Linked DNA regions of Homo sapiens: region 2 is linked to region 1. Evidence: promoter capture Hi-C in 16 types of primary human blood cells and fetal thymus (Javierre and others, 2016). All regions are on one chromosome and are shown on one strand. Each heading gives the region's core, a stretch centred on a gene start or on the middle of the fragment in contact. The rest is flanking DNA. Distances are from core to core; before and after follow the strand shown.

Region 1 (7,014 bases), core at 1,611-4,110:
GATACCTCCCCCCCTCCCCGCAACACAGAATCTGGTGACCTTCCCCCTCAGTCATTATGTAAATGACTATACATAAAGCTTTTGTTATTTACAAATATAATGAGAGGATTTGTTCATTTCCAAAAGGAAAGGGAGAAACACATATCCTGTGATAGAGCTGGGCTTTCTTACCTCAAAACTGCAGCCAAATGGGCAGTATTATCTTTGTCTCACCTTTTAGAACCATTTCCAGAAGTACAAAAATTATTAATATTCCCATGTGGTGGATCTTAACTTTTGGGAGGGGGACATGGATTCCTGTAGGAAAGGTAAAAACTATGGATATATGTCTACGTATAATTTTAGGCAGTTCACTGACCAGCCCTTCCTCCAAGCCAGTTCATGGACCAACTTAATGACACCCTACATACAATCCGAAGCATTCACCAAGTGTTTTCTAACACGACATATCATTAGGGAAGGGGCACTATGGCGTATGGTGGGAAGATCAGTACCTTTGATGCCAAGCAACTGATGATCAATAACTTTCATACCAGTAACTTTGATGCAAGGCAGATGTAGATTTGAGAACTGGCTCTGCAACTAAGAAAGGTATGGCATATGCCCTTGGAACCTGTCTCTTCATCCATAAGAGGAGGATCATGATATCCATTTGGCAGTGTTCTTGTGAATTATTAGAAATAATGTAAAGAGGCAACCACGTAAGAGCTGCATACATCATAGATAATAACAAAGAATGCATTTCAGCCCATAGTGCAGTGTGGCTCACAGGGCTCGTGATGACTCATTTTGCCTGTGACATAGCGACTGTAAATCAACATAGCTCACGTACCCTCAGCAGCTATCACTCTGGTGGCAGCTGTGCTTCACATCCCACAGAACACCAGTGCCTTGGGGTACCTAGGCCAGGGCCTGGCACACATTTTTGTTTTAAATACTGAACAGAGGGATATTGAGTCCATCCACAAGTACTGGTTCAGTGTGTCTCCCCACAGCCAACCACCAGTGCCAGTTCATATTGGTGAGACTCAGCAACCAACTTGGTTTGCAAAGTGACCCCATCAGACAGGAAGGACATTGCCTTCCTAACAGCAAATGAGAAACGAGGGAGCCTTGGACTTTTTTTTTTTTCTTTTAATGTTTCATAGCATGACATCCAGGTGGGTCCTGACCTCTGTCAATACCACCTTCCTGAGGTTAGTTCCATTTCCTACTCTGCACCTGATTCCTGCAGCTCCCACCTTCAGTGAGAGGAGGCTACAGTTCTGAAGGAAAAGGCTTGGCATTGAAGCTATGGTCTTCCTGGGCCAGATTCAGGAGGGAATGGAAGAGAACATTCCTTTCAGGACAGGTGGCCAAAGGATAGGAGACAGAGTGGTTCAGCAGGGGGGGTAGGTTGCACAAGGGTGGGGCAAAGGGCACCTCCTGAAAGATGGGAAGTGGGAATGGGGATCTGGCCTGGGGCTGCTGTGGAGCCAGCTGCAGTGCAGGTTGCAGGGGAGCAGGGGCTTCCGCCTTGGGGTTGCTGTCTTGGTCAGCATGGCTCCTGCCTTCGGGGATGTCCAAATCCCACAGAACATCTGGATTCTGGACCTCAGTCTCAGTCTTGGTGACAGCAGGGGCAGGGCCCGTGTTGATGGCTGCATTCATGCCGTAGCGCCGTCGCTTGTTAATCCAGTACAACAATGGGCTGTAGGTGAATGTGGCAGCTCTCATCACCTCCACCCACTGCTGGGCATGCTCTTCCCGCCTCAAGTTCTTCCTCCAGTGCAGAAAGATAATGCACCCTCCAGTTATCACAGAACACAGCCCCAGGATTCCAAAGTACAATGAGACCCACACTAAGGCAGCAAGAAAGAAAAAGAGGCATGCTGGCTGATAGCTGTAGCTTGGGGCCTGAGCTGTTTCTCATTCCTCTTTCACTTAACCCATGCATCAATCGCTCCATCCACTTAACTACTCTCACCGTTCCTTCCCTCCCTTATTGACTTGCCTCATCATTCCCTTATTCAGTCAAAGCTAGATTTCCAGGGAGCTTAAGCACCACCTTTAACTCTTTACAGATCACAAAAGCTAGGTCTAGCGGGGGCATGTGCTGCCCAGGCTCAGTCAAGCCTCTGATTCCTAACCCAGGACCCATCCAATCCATCAGACTGAGAAGTTTCACTATGGGCAAGTCCATCAAGAAGCAAAAGTTCACCAGCACTTTGTGAGGCCCAGGTGGGCAGATCACTTGAGGTCAGGACTTCAAGTCCAGCCTGGCCAACATGGTGAAACCCCGTCTCTACTAAAAATTTTAAAATTAGCCAGGTGTGGTGGTGCATGCCTGCAGTCCCAGCTACTTCAGAGGCTGAGGCAGGAGAATCACTTGAATCCAGGAGGTGGAGGTTACAGTGAGCCTAGATTGAGCCACTGCACTCCAGCCGGGGCAACAGAGCAAAACTTCATCTCAAAAAAAAAAAAAAAAGTGAAAGTTCATCAGTTGACAGAGACACCAATGTCCCATCCCATTCCATTCAGCTGTGATAGTCCTGGGCTATTGATAGTATCTTCTCTGGTTGATCAGAGCATGGTCTTTGCCTTAAAATAATTCTTAGTTTTCTAGAGTAGACTATCTCCTAACTGCTTAGCTCTCCTCCAGGCAGCCAGGCACTGTCCCATCCATGCAAAGGGCCTTCCCTGAGTGTTTGTCCCCAAGCCCTAAGGCACAAGTCCAGTGACAGGGACTGGAGGAGCACTTACTCCCAGGGAAGCGCAGGTCCTCCTGTTGGGAATCCATACAGCTGAGCTTTGGTACCTGGCCGATGGCTCTGGGGAGAGGGAACTCACCCACCCATCTGCCCAGCCAGTCAGCCCATCTGCCCAGCCAATCAGAGTCTCCAGAATGCCCAGGCCCTTTGTTCTCTAAAGGAGAGGTCACTGGGTTCTGAGAATTGGGCATTCTAGGGGCAGTGCTTGTGAAGTGGTCCTGGGTTAATGGAAGGAGGGGACTTCATCCAGTGGCATTTTTTGGGTGGAATGTCACTACTACTTCCATCAGAGACTGGTTCACCTATTGAATTGTCTGTACCTACCCCTTATGGTGAACCCACAGAGCAGACCCCAGAAAAGGGCCATTGTCCCTCAGGTACTTACGGATGTTGCTGGTCTTTAGGGAACGGTTGATGGGATACCTGTCCCCAGTGAGGAATGTAACAAGGAACACACAGCATTGGGCAGCCCTGTTCTCAAAAAGTATCTAACCAAGTTGGCAGGAAGAAACCTGCTCAAGGGAACCAAGTGGTCAATACCTCCTTCTTTGGCTCCAACAATCTGTCTTTTATTTAATTACCTTCCTTCAAGTGCTGACAAGTGTTTCCCAGGCCCCAGGCCCTGTGGGGCTTCCCACCATCTGGCCTGCATCTACTTCCAGCCTTACTTCCCTCCTCGTCCTCCACACACTTTTCCCTTTTGCCTAGTCCGTACTCCTGAACAGACCCTGCTCATTCACATCTCTGGAGGTGTGCCCATGCTGCTCCTTCACCCAGGAGTGCCCCTGCCCACTTTTCCACCACTGAACACCTGCTCATCCTTCAAGACTCAGCTCAGCCCCCCTACTCTGTGACAGACTGCCCAGAATCATATCATCGCCAATTTGAAGAAACTTTGAGAGTTGTCTAGTTCATCTCCACCATCTGATCCCACCATCAGGGCCATGCTTGACTCCTGGGGGTAGATTTTTCCCCACACAGCAACTAATCTCCCTGGACTCAAGACTCACTTGAGTCAGGAACTTGCTCACCACCTCCTGAGGCAGCTTGATGCATTTATGGGCAGCTCAGTTAGAAAGCCCTTCCCTAATTAAGCTTAAGTCAGCCTTCCCAGTATGTTGCACCACTGCTTGTAGCTCAGCTTCTTAGCACCATTTTAATGACTCCCCTCTTTATAGTCCTCCAATGTGTGACTTAGGGAACTATTTAGCACAGAATTCTCTCCAGGGTCCACTTACCCTTGTTCTCCTCGTATATCACTGGCCCCTACTTTCCAGTCTCCTTTGCTGGTTTCTCCCTTTTCCCCTGATCTCTAAATGTAGGCATGTCTAGGGCTCAGTTCTTAGTGCTCTATCTACATTCATTCCATCAGTTATCTCACCCAGACCCCTGGCTTTAAATATCACTATACACTGACAGTACGCAACTGTATCTCTCCAGCCTGGAATGCTCCTCAGAACTTTAGACTCATACCCAAATACCTGGTTGACATCCCTCCTTGCCAGTCTGTTAAATTATCCCAAACCAACATGTCCAAAACCAAACTCTGATTATCCATCCTCCAAAGTCTACCCTACCTACAGCCTTCCTCCTCTTCATAAGTAGTATCTCTGTCCTTCGGGTTGTTCAGGCCAAAAACCTGCAAGTCATCCTTGACTCCTTTCATTCTATCACACCCACACTGACTCCATCAGCAAGATCTTTAGGCTTTTATTTCAAAATATAACCAAAATCTGGCCACTTTTTTTTATCACTATCACTTTAGTCCAAGTACCACCATCTCTCACTTGGATTACTGTTCCCTGTAGGGTGACCAACATCCTGGTTTGCCCAGGACTTGGGGTGGGTTCTCAGGACATGGGGCTTTCAATGCTAGAGCCAAGAAAGTCCTAGGCAAACTGGAATAAATTAGTCACCCTTGGGAGAGTTTCCATCCTTGCCTCCACATATCCTAAATCCCACCAGCAGCCAGCATGATCCTTTTAAAAAGTAGATCATGTTACTCCACTGCTTAAAACATATAGTAACTTCCGATCTCATTCGATTTAAAATCAAAGTCCTTAACCAAGGCCTAAGCAATCTAACTAGCCCTCCCTATACCTTCTTGGTCTCATTTCTGCTGCTGTGCCCTCACTCATTCAGACTCAATAACCTCCTCATCAGGGCCTTTGCACTTGCTGTTTCCCCTACCTGGAAGGCTCTTCCCCCAGCATTCCCACATTACCTTCAGGTCTCTGCTCAAGTGTCCCCTTATCTCTATCTCTCTTGGCCTGCTGTTTTTCTGCATACCATGTAGCATCACCTAACATTATATATTTACTGTCTGTTTCACTCCACTAGAATGTAAGCTCAATGAATTAATATAAACAAGGATCTAAGAACTTCAGATAATGATAACTGCTATAAAGAGAATGCAATAGAGTGATGGGATAAAGACTATAAAGAGATGGAGGGGTTGTCATTTAGGTCCCTTGGAGGTGCTTACATGTGAACTGAGCCCTTAGATGATGAGGAGGCAGCCACATGCAGATCCACAGAGAAAACAGCAAGTGTTAGGAGTGTGAGCCAGGTATGGGCTGGCATACTTGAAGGACTTATTCATCTTCCATTACACTGTTCCTCGCACAGGGCAGGGCTCAGGGCTGATCTCCATGAGCATAGGTTGGATTGAGCAGAGTTGAAGGCTCTGCCCCTGTCCCAGGAGGGGCTTCAATCAGACAAAACCCAGACAAGAAGGACCTGATGATGAGTACTGTCCCAGAGAGCCCACTCCAGGACTGGCCCTGTTCTGTGAGCAGGTGGGACACAGAGATGTTAATGTCACTGTCCCTGACCCTAGGAGCTCACACCTGGTTCAGACGGTAAGGAAGATTGTGGCATTTGGGTTGAGAGAATGGAAGGAGAGAGGATTCCAGGGGTCAAAAAGGGCCTGAATAAGGACTCTTCAAGGAGTAATCCTGGTGTTTCTTTGGGAGAGAATAGGTCACTGTGGCTGGAGTTCAAGGAGGATGTCAGGAAGCAGAGGAAAAGGAGGCTTGGGAGGCAGCTGCCATCTTGAAAAGAGCTCAGCTGTCGGGTAGAACTTGAACAAGTCACATAATTACTCTCGGCCTCAGTTTCCTTATTTGTTAGATGAGGATAATACTGCCACACAGAGTATGAAGCCGCTCAGTGTCCTGCACATAGCAACCTCAGTAAAGAGAAGCTTGCTGCTGTGATTATAGTTGATGAAAAGACCTTCGATGCTGAAGGACGGACTACTACATCGAGTGCCTGGCACTACAGCGAGTGCCAGGGGCAAGCACCGCGAGGACATGGAGATCCGCTGGCTTTAGAGAACGGACTTGGCGCGCAGAGGCTGCTGGTCCCAGAGGGAGGAAGGGCGTTGAATTTGGGCAGCCTCCCTGGAGGAGGCGGGCCGTGGCATACACAGGGCGGCGAGAGCGCGCAGTGCCGGGGCCAGAGCGGCGCGCCCCCTCCTCCCCGCCCCGCCTCGCCGCTATCCCGCGCCCGGAACCTTGGGCGCGCGGAACCTCGGTGCCGGAGCGCGGGCGCGGCGCACTCGGAGCGGGATGGAGCGGGCGCGCGGGCCGCGGGCCGAGGCCGACGCGCCTGAGGAGGAGGAGGAGGCGGGGGCGGCCATGGCTGCTGTGGTGGTGGCGGCTGCGGGTGGCGCGGGACCGGCGGTCCTGCAGGTGGCCGGTCTCTACCGGGGCCTGTGCGCGGTGCGCAGCCGCGCCCTGGGCCTGGGGCTCGTGTCACCCGCGCAGCTGCGCGTCTTCCCAGTGCGCCCCGGCTCGGGCCGGCCCGAGGGGGGCGCCGACAGCAGCGGGGTCGGGGCCGAGGCCGAGCTCCAGGCCAACCCTTTCTACGACCGCTACCGCGACAAGATCCAGCTGCTGCGCAGGTGCGGGCCTGGGTTGGCTGGAGGCGGGCAGGAGGCGGGAGGAGGGGCGGCCCGGGCTGCTGGGCCTTAGGACAGCCCTGTGAGGTGGGCACTAGTACTGTCCCAGCTCTTCAGATGATGTAGCCAGGCTCCGCGAGGCTAGGTCACTTGCCCAAGATCACACAGCTAATTGGTGTCAGAGCTGGGAGTCTCTGCAAAGCCCTGGCTCGTTCCACGTTTGTCTGCTTTGGTTCTCCAAACGCTAAGGTGGACTCTTATGACAGCCCTGAGGCAGGCAGCTCAGAGACACCTGTCCTCATTATAGAAATGGGAAAACGCCTTCTAGAGAAGGGACTTGACTTGCTCAAGGTCACATAT
Region 2 (7,014 bases), core at 2,254-4,753, 630 kb before region 1:
TGGCCAGGCTGGTCTTGAAATCCTGACCTCAAGTGATCTGCCCACCTCAGCCTCCCAAAGTGCTAGGATTATAGGTGTGAGCCACTGTGCCCAGCCTAATTATTTTTAAATGTTATTATTTATTACTTTTAAGTTGTTATTGACTATAGTCACCCTGCTGTGCTATCAAATAATAGGTCTTAATCATTCTTTCTGGTTTTTTTTTTTTAAACCCATTAACTGTGTCTACCTCTCACCCAACCCCTACTACTCTTCCCAGCCTCTGGTAACCATCCTTCTACTCTCTGTGTCCATGAGTTCCATTGTTTTGATTTTTAGATCCCACAAATAAGCGAAAACGTGAAGTTTGTATTTCTGCTCCTGGCTTATTTCACTTAACATGGTGATCTCCAGTTCTAACCATGTTGTTGCAAATGACAGGAATTTATTCTTTTTTTTTTCCATTTTCTTTTTCTTTTTTCTTTTTTTTTGTTTTTTGAGACAGTATCGGGGGACCTGCCCCGATAATCACGTAGGTTCTTTTCTGTTTTCCTAAGCGTCCGCTGCCTTGAGAAATAAAAGGACAGAGTACAAAAGAGAGAAATTTTAAAGCTGGGCTTCCGGGGGAGACATCACACGTTGGTAGGATTCGTGATGCCCCACAAGCCACAAAAACCAGCAAGTTTTTATTAGGGAGTTTCAAAAGGGGAGGGAGTGTGCGAATAGGTGTGGGTGACAGACATCAAGTACTTAACAGGGTAATAGAATATCACAAGGCAAGTGGAGGCAGGGCGAGATCACAGGACCACAGGACTGAGGCGAAATTAAAATTGCTAATGAGGTTTTGGGCACCACTGTCATTGATAACATCTTATCAGGAGACAGGGTTTTCAGATCAACCGGTCTGACTACAATTTATTAGGTGGGAATTTCCTCTTCCTAATAAGCCTGGGAGCGCTATGGGAGACTGGAGTTTATTTCACCTCTGCAATCTCGACCATAAGAGACAGGTACGCCCCGGGGGGGCCAGTTCAGAGACCTACCCCTAGGTGCGCATTTTCTTTCTCAGGGACATTCCATGCTGAGAAAAAGAATTCAGTGATATTTCTCCCATTTGCTTTTGAAAGAAGAGAAATATGGCTCTGTTCTGCCTGGCTCACCGGCGGTCAGAGTTTAAGGTTATCTCTCTTATTCCCTGAACAATTGCTGTTATCCTGTTCTTTTTTCAGGTGCCCACATTTCATATTGCTCAAACACACATGCTGTACAATTTGTGTAGTTAACGCAATTATTACAGGGTCCTGAGACGATATACATCCTTCTCGGCTGACAGGATTAAGAGATTAAAGCAAAGACAGGCATAGGAAATCACAAGGGTATTGATTGGGGAAGTGATAAGTGTCCATGAAATCTTTACAATTTATGTTTAGAGATTGCAGTAAAGACAGGCATAAGAAATTACAAAAGTATTAATTTGGGGAACTAATAAATGTCCATAAAATCTTCACAATCCACGTCCTTCAGTCATGGCTTCGGCCGGTCCCTCCATTTGGGGTCCCTGACTTCCCGCAACAAGACAGAGTCTCACTCTGTCACTCAGGCTGGAGTGCAGTGGTGCGGTCTCAGCTCACTGCAACCTCAACTGATTCAAGCAATTCTCATGCCTCAGCCTCCTGAGTAACTGGGATTACAGGCGTGTGCCACCATGTCCAGCTAATTTTTTGTTTTTTGTTTTTTGAGATGGAGTTTTGCTCTTGTCACCCAAGCTGTAGTGGGGTGGCGTGATCTTGGCTCACTGAAACCTCTTCCCCCTGGGTTCAAGTGATTCTCGTGCCTCAGCCTCTGAACTAGCTGGGACCAGAGGCGCGTGGCACCACACCTGGCTAATTTTGTATTTCTAGTGGAGATGGGGTTTCACCATGTTGGCCAGGCTGGTCTCGAACTGCAGGCCTCAAGTGATCCACCTGCCTTGGCCTCCCAAAGTGCTGACATAGGTGTGAGCCACCAGGCCTGGCCCCATTAGTGGTCTTTTTCTTATTGTGGTTTTCTCGTGTTATACACTCATGTAAAATGAAAAGTTTTTGATGGTACCCTATATGATTTAATATCACAACCTTGCTTTACACTGCCCCTGGCATCTTTGTTGAGGAATTATTTATAATTATGTCCTTTTGACGCTTCAATAATTAAACTTGTGCTGTATTTTGGTATTCCAGAATACCAAATTTGGAAACACTGGAAAATAATTAAGAATTTATTAAGTTTTTTTGCTTTTCATAACTGTTGGGTATTATCTAACAATTATCTGGAAATCAGTTCAGAAAGACAGATTTTAGGCCAGGAGCCATGGCTCATGCCTATAATCCCAGTGCTTTGGGAGGCCAAGGTGGGAAGATTGCTTAAAACCATGAGTTCAAGACCAGCCTGGGAAACATAGCAGGACCCTGTGTCTACAAAAATTACAAAAGTAAATCTCACGTGGTGGTGCACATTTGTGGTCTTAGCTGCTTGAGAGGCTCCCTTGAGCCCAGGAGTTTAAGGCTGCAGTGAGGTATGATTGAGCCCCTGCATTCCAGCTTGGGCAACAGAGCAAGGCCCTGCTCTTTAAAAAAAAAAAAAAAAAAGGAAAGAAAAGAAAGATTTTAGTTTAAATTTAAATGTAAATGTATGATTTATACTCATTTTTCTGTTACTTAAAAGGGATTTTGTAGGATTGTCTTGTTCTTTTTTTAAAAGCTTGTGTATACATAAATTTACATATGCATAGATAAAAAAGGACAAATAAGCCAAATTTTGAGTGCCTATTCTCCTGGTAGTAGAGTTACAAGTGAATTTTCTTTTTTAAAAAATATTTTTTGGGCCGGGCGCGGTGGCTTACGCCTGTAATCCCAGCACTTTGGGAGGCTGAGGCGGGTAGATCATGACGTCAGGAGTTTGAGACCAGCTTGGCCAACATGGTGAAACCCCGTCTCTACTAAAGATACAAAAAATTACCTGCGTGTGGTGGCAGGCGCCTGTAATCCTAGCTACTCGGGAGGCTGAGGTGGGAGGATCACTTGAACCCAGAGGCGGAGGTTGCAGTGAGCTGAGATCACGCCATTGCACTCCAGCCTGGGCAACAGGGTAAGACTCCGTCTGAAAAAAAAAAAAAAAAAAAAAAAAAGGCCAGGCGTGGTGGCTCACGCCTGTAATCCCAGCACTTTGGGAGGCTGAGGCAGGCTGATCATGAGGTCAGCAGATCAGGACCATCCTGATTAACAGTGAAACCCTGTCTCTACTAAAAATACAAAAAATTAGCCAGGCATGGTGGTATGTGCCTGTAGTCCCAGCTACTTGGGAGGCTAAGGCTGGAGAATCGCTTCAACCTGGAAGGCGGAGGTTGCAGTAAGCTGAGATTGCACCACAGTACTCCAGCCTGGGCGACAGAGTGAGAATCCGTCTCAAAAAATAAAAAAGTATTTTTTGGCCAGGCACAGTGGCTAATGCCTGTAATCCTAGCACTTTGGGAGGCCGAGGCAGGTGGATGACTTGAGGTCAGGAGTTCGAGACCAGCTTGCCCACATGGCGAAACCCCGTCTCTACTAAAAATACAAAAAGTAGCCGGGTGTGGTGGTGCACTCCTGTAATCTCAGCTACTCAGGAAGCTCAGGCAGGGGAATTGCTTGAACCCAGGAGGCAGAGGTTGCAGTGAGCTGAGATCACGCCACTGCACTCCAGCCTGGGTGATGGAGTGAGACTTTGTCTCAAAAAAAATATATATATATAAACTCTTTGAAAATTACAAAAGTAGTCTGAAAATACCATCACCTTAAAGATAGTTAGTTGTTTCCTACCAAATGTCTACCAAGTTTGCTATTCCTTGTGCTTTAATTTTACATTGTTTTTTCAAAAGGTTTCCTTCAAGCAGGATGGTACCTTTCCACTTTCCTCCATCAAAATGTGCACTTTGGAACCCAACGCCAACTGGAGATTTCATCTACTTACATCTCAGTTACTACAGGTATAACATGTTTCTTTTTTTCAAATCAAGCCAGTATAAACAAGAGTAATACAAAGATGTATAAGGCAAAGTTGATTACTATGACCAATTATTCATTTTTCTTTACTTTTCTTTTAGAATCTCCCCTCAGGCAAAATTTTCCTTCTGCTTCTTAACATCTGTTCCTTGTACTTTTGAGAGATAATCTTATCTTCCCAGTTTTCTGCAAATTCTGCATATTGTAGGAATTCAAAAGAGGTGAAATATAGTAAAAACTGAAAGTGTTTTTTATTATGTCAGCATGGTGTCTTTGTGGAACGTTGAGAAGCTTGAACCAATTTTTGAGTGGATCAGATTAGAAGGAATATAAAATCTTGTAGTTACATCTAGGACCTTGACAGACAAGAAAGTTTAGGTGTAAAGTAATAGAAAATAGATCTATTGAGGTTTTGTACATAAGAGTTACTTGTTAAAAGTAGTATTCTAAGAAGGATAGATTATGGCGGGGAGAGCCTTGAGTCAGCCTAGCTTCAAGATGCTTTTCTGTAATCACACAGGTGTATATTGTAATGGTTTAAGGTGCTATAACTGGGCTGGGTGCAGTGGCTCACACCTGTAACCCCAGCACTTTGGGAGGTTGAGGCAGGAGGATTGCTTGAAGTCAGGAGTTTGAAACCAGCCTGGGCAACAAAGTGAGACCTTGTCTCAATAAAAAATTAAAATAAAAAGTAAAAAAAAAAACAAAATAAGGAAAAAAAAACGGTGCAATAATTGGAGCAGACTGCCTAGGGAATCAAATCCTGATTCTAGTACTTATTTATGCAACCTCAGTAAAGTAGCCAAGGATCAGTTTCCTTATTTATAAAATGACTATAATAATACCAGTTTCACAGTTCTCTTGTAGGGGTTAAATAAGACTCTGTAAAGCAATTGTCACAGTGCCTGGAATAGAAAGTATTTCATAAATGGCATCTATTATACATTATAAGGACTTAGAGCAATGTAGCAGTATTCAGATCAAGAGGAAAGAATGAAACAAGGTGTTTTGAATAAATAATTTGTAGTATTTGATGATTGACTGAATAGAGGAACTGAAGGAAAGATACAAGAAAGAAAGTATTCGGGTTCAACACTAGTTGGCAGAGAAGGGTGGTACCATTGACAAAAATAGGGAGAGTCTTATGGAAGTTCAACTAAATAATGGTTAGTCCTGTTTTTATTTTTTTTATTGTTGTCTTTCTGTACATTTTGAGTAGTTTCCTTTGTTTTTCAAGTCTGCTTATTTTCTCTTTAGCTGTGCTTAGCTGCCATCTAACCTATTCATTTAAGTTTGGTTGTTTTTTTTGAGAGGAGTTTTGCTGTTGTTGTCCAGGCTGGAGTGCAGTGGCGTGATGTTGGCTCACTGCAACCTCCGCCTCCCATGTACAAGCGATTCTCCTGTCTCAGCCTCCCAAGTAGCTCGAATTACAGACATGTGCCACCACGCCTGGCTAATTTTTTTGTATTTGGTAGAGATGGGGTTTCACCATGTTAGTCAGGCTGGTCACGAACTCCTGACCTCAGGTGATCCACCTGCCTCATCCTCCCAAAGTGCTGGGATTACAGGCATGTGCCACCACGCCTGGCCCTCATTTAGGTTTTTTAAAACGTGGCGGTGTACCATATATATGAGAGGATACTTATAGTATATATGCATAGTTAATAGAATAACAATACACATTTGTGTACCTATCCCCAGTTAATTATATAACTTATTGAATTTTTGCAAATTATATTTTTTATTTCTTTAAGTTCTGTATGGCTTTTTTATTCAAATTTGCCTGGTCTTTTTTCGTAGTATCTTATTCCTGGCTTATATTTTGGTTTTCCTTTTACATTTTTTAAAGCATTTAAATCATACTATATTTTGTATTCAATACAGTAGTTTCCCCCCTTTATGCATGGTTTCACTTTCCATGGTTTCAGTTACCCACAGTATAATACAATAAGGTATTTTGAGAGACAGACCATATTCACACAACTTTTTTACAGTATACTGTTAAAATTATGCTACTATTAATTATTGTTGTTAATCATTTACTGTGCCTAATTTATAAATTAAACTTTATCATAGATACGTATGTATAGGAAGAAACATAGTATATATAGGATTTGTTACTATCTGTGGTTTCAGACATCCACTGGGGGTCTGGAACATGTCTCCCAGAGATAAGGGGGCACTACTGTAATGCTGATTATATCTGAAGCCCATACACAGTATGTAAAGAAACAGATGTGACTGTTTCAATCAAAATTTACTTACAAAAACAGGAGACCTACCTGCTGAGGTTCATAAAGTTAACAAAATGCCTGGAGAACAACTATAGTTTCAGTGTCTGTTTATTGCCATTCTAGTTTCCAAGTGGCCCTCCGTATCCCCTGCCTTTGACCCTGGGATTTCCTGACAATGATCTTTCTGTACATTTTTAAAAATGTGTGTTATAATTTAGACAGCATTTTATGGCAGGAGGTTTTTTTAAGATATGAGGTCTACCATATTCATAAAAGACTTGTTGTTTTTCAGAAATCCAAAGCTTGTGGTGACTGAGAAGACCATCCGACTTGCTTATCGTCATGCTAAGCAGAATAAAAAAAATTCGTCATGCTTTTTACTTGGTTCTCTGACAGCAGACGAAGGTAATACACTTTTAAAAATGGACCAGTGCTCACGCCTGTAATCCCAGCACGTTGGGAGGCTGGAGTGGGAGGATCACTTGAACCTAGGAGTTTAAGACCAGCTTGCATAACATAGTAAGACTCCATCAGTACAAGAAAACATTTTTTTAAATTACTTGTATGACTGCAATAGAATTTATTGATTCGGCCAACTATTGTATTTGCTTTGCGCTAATTTTCTTTGCTGTGTACCAAGGATATGAAGATGAGTAAAACTATTAATTACAGAGTTCACTGTCTGGTCAGATGGATCAATATATATAAGCAAGTAAGACTTTAGTATACGCTTATAAGAGTTTAGTTTACTGTAAGAGTTTAGTTTAGTATTTAAGAGTTTAGTG

Evidence for each region. The method cuts DNA at HindIII sites, captures the fragments that hold promoters and counts their contacts. A CHiCAGO score of 5 or more calls a contact.
Region 2: a fragment that was not itself captured here is called in contact with the fragment with the promoter of TEX38 in region 1 in 4 of 17 cell types (M1 macrophages, erythroblasts, M0 macrophages and 1 more); the score reaches 6.2 in M1 macrophages.

The regions. Positions count from the first base shown.
Region 1 is chr1:46,667,700-46,674,713 of GRCh38, reverse strand. TEX38 (testis expressed 38) reads right to left here and starts at 2,860. Exons shown (of 2, transcript NM_001145474.4): 1 at 2,743-2,860; 2 at 1,120-1,841. The coding sequence starts at 2,779. The coding sequence ends at 1,258. ATPAF1 (ATP synthase mitochondrial F1 complex assembly factor 1) reads left to right here and starts at 6,350. Exons shown (of 9, transcript NM_001394565.1): 1 at 6,350-6,657. The coding sequence starts at 6,392. It overlaps EFCAB14-AS1 (EFCAB14 antisense RNA 1), which reads right to left and starts at 678. Exons shown (of 3, transcript NR_038828.1): 1 at 495-678. RefSeq lists an enhancer at 5,901-6,050 and silencers at 6,563-6,733, 6,161-6,780. The HindIII fragment of the contact is 3,767 bases long and covers 81-3,847 here.
Region 2 is chr1:47,301,854-47,308,867 of GRCh38, reverse strand. STIL (STIL centriolar assembly protein) reads left to right here. Exons shown (of 17, transcript NM_001048166.1): 3 at 3,872-3,979; 4 at 6,522-6,634. Among named protein-coding and RNA genes, the nearest start is that of STIL, 8.8 kb to the left of the region's middle. RefSeq lists an enhancer at 1,798-2,363. The HindIII fragment of the contact is 1,571 bases long and covers 2,718-4,288 here.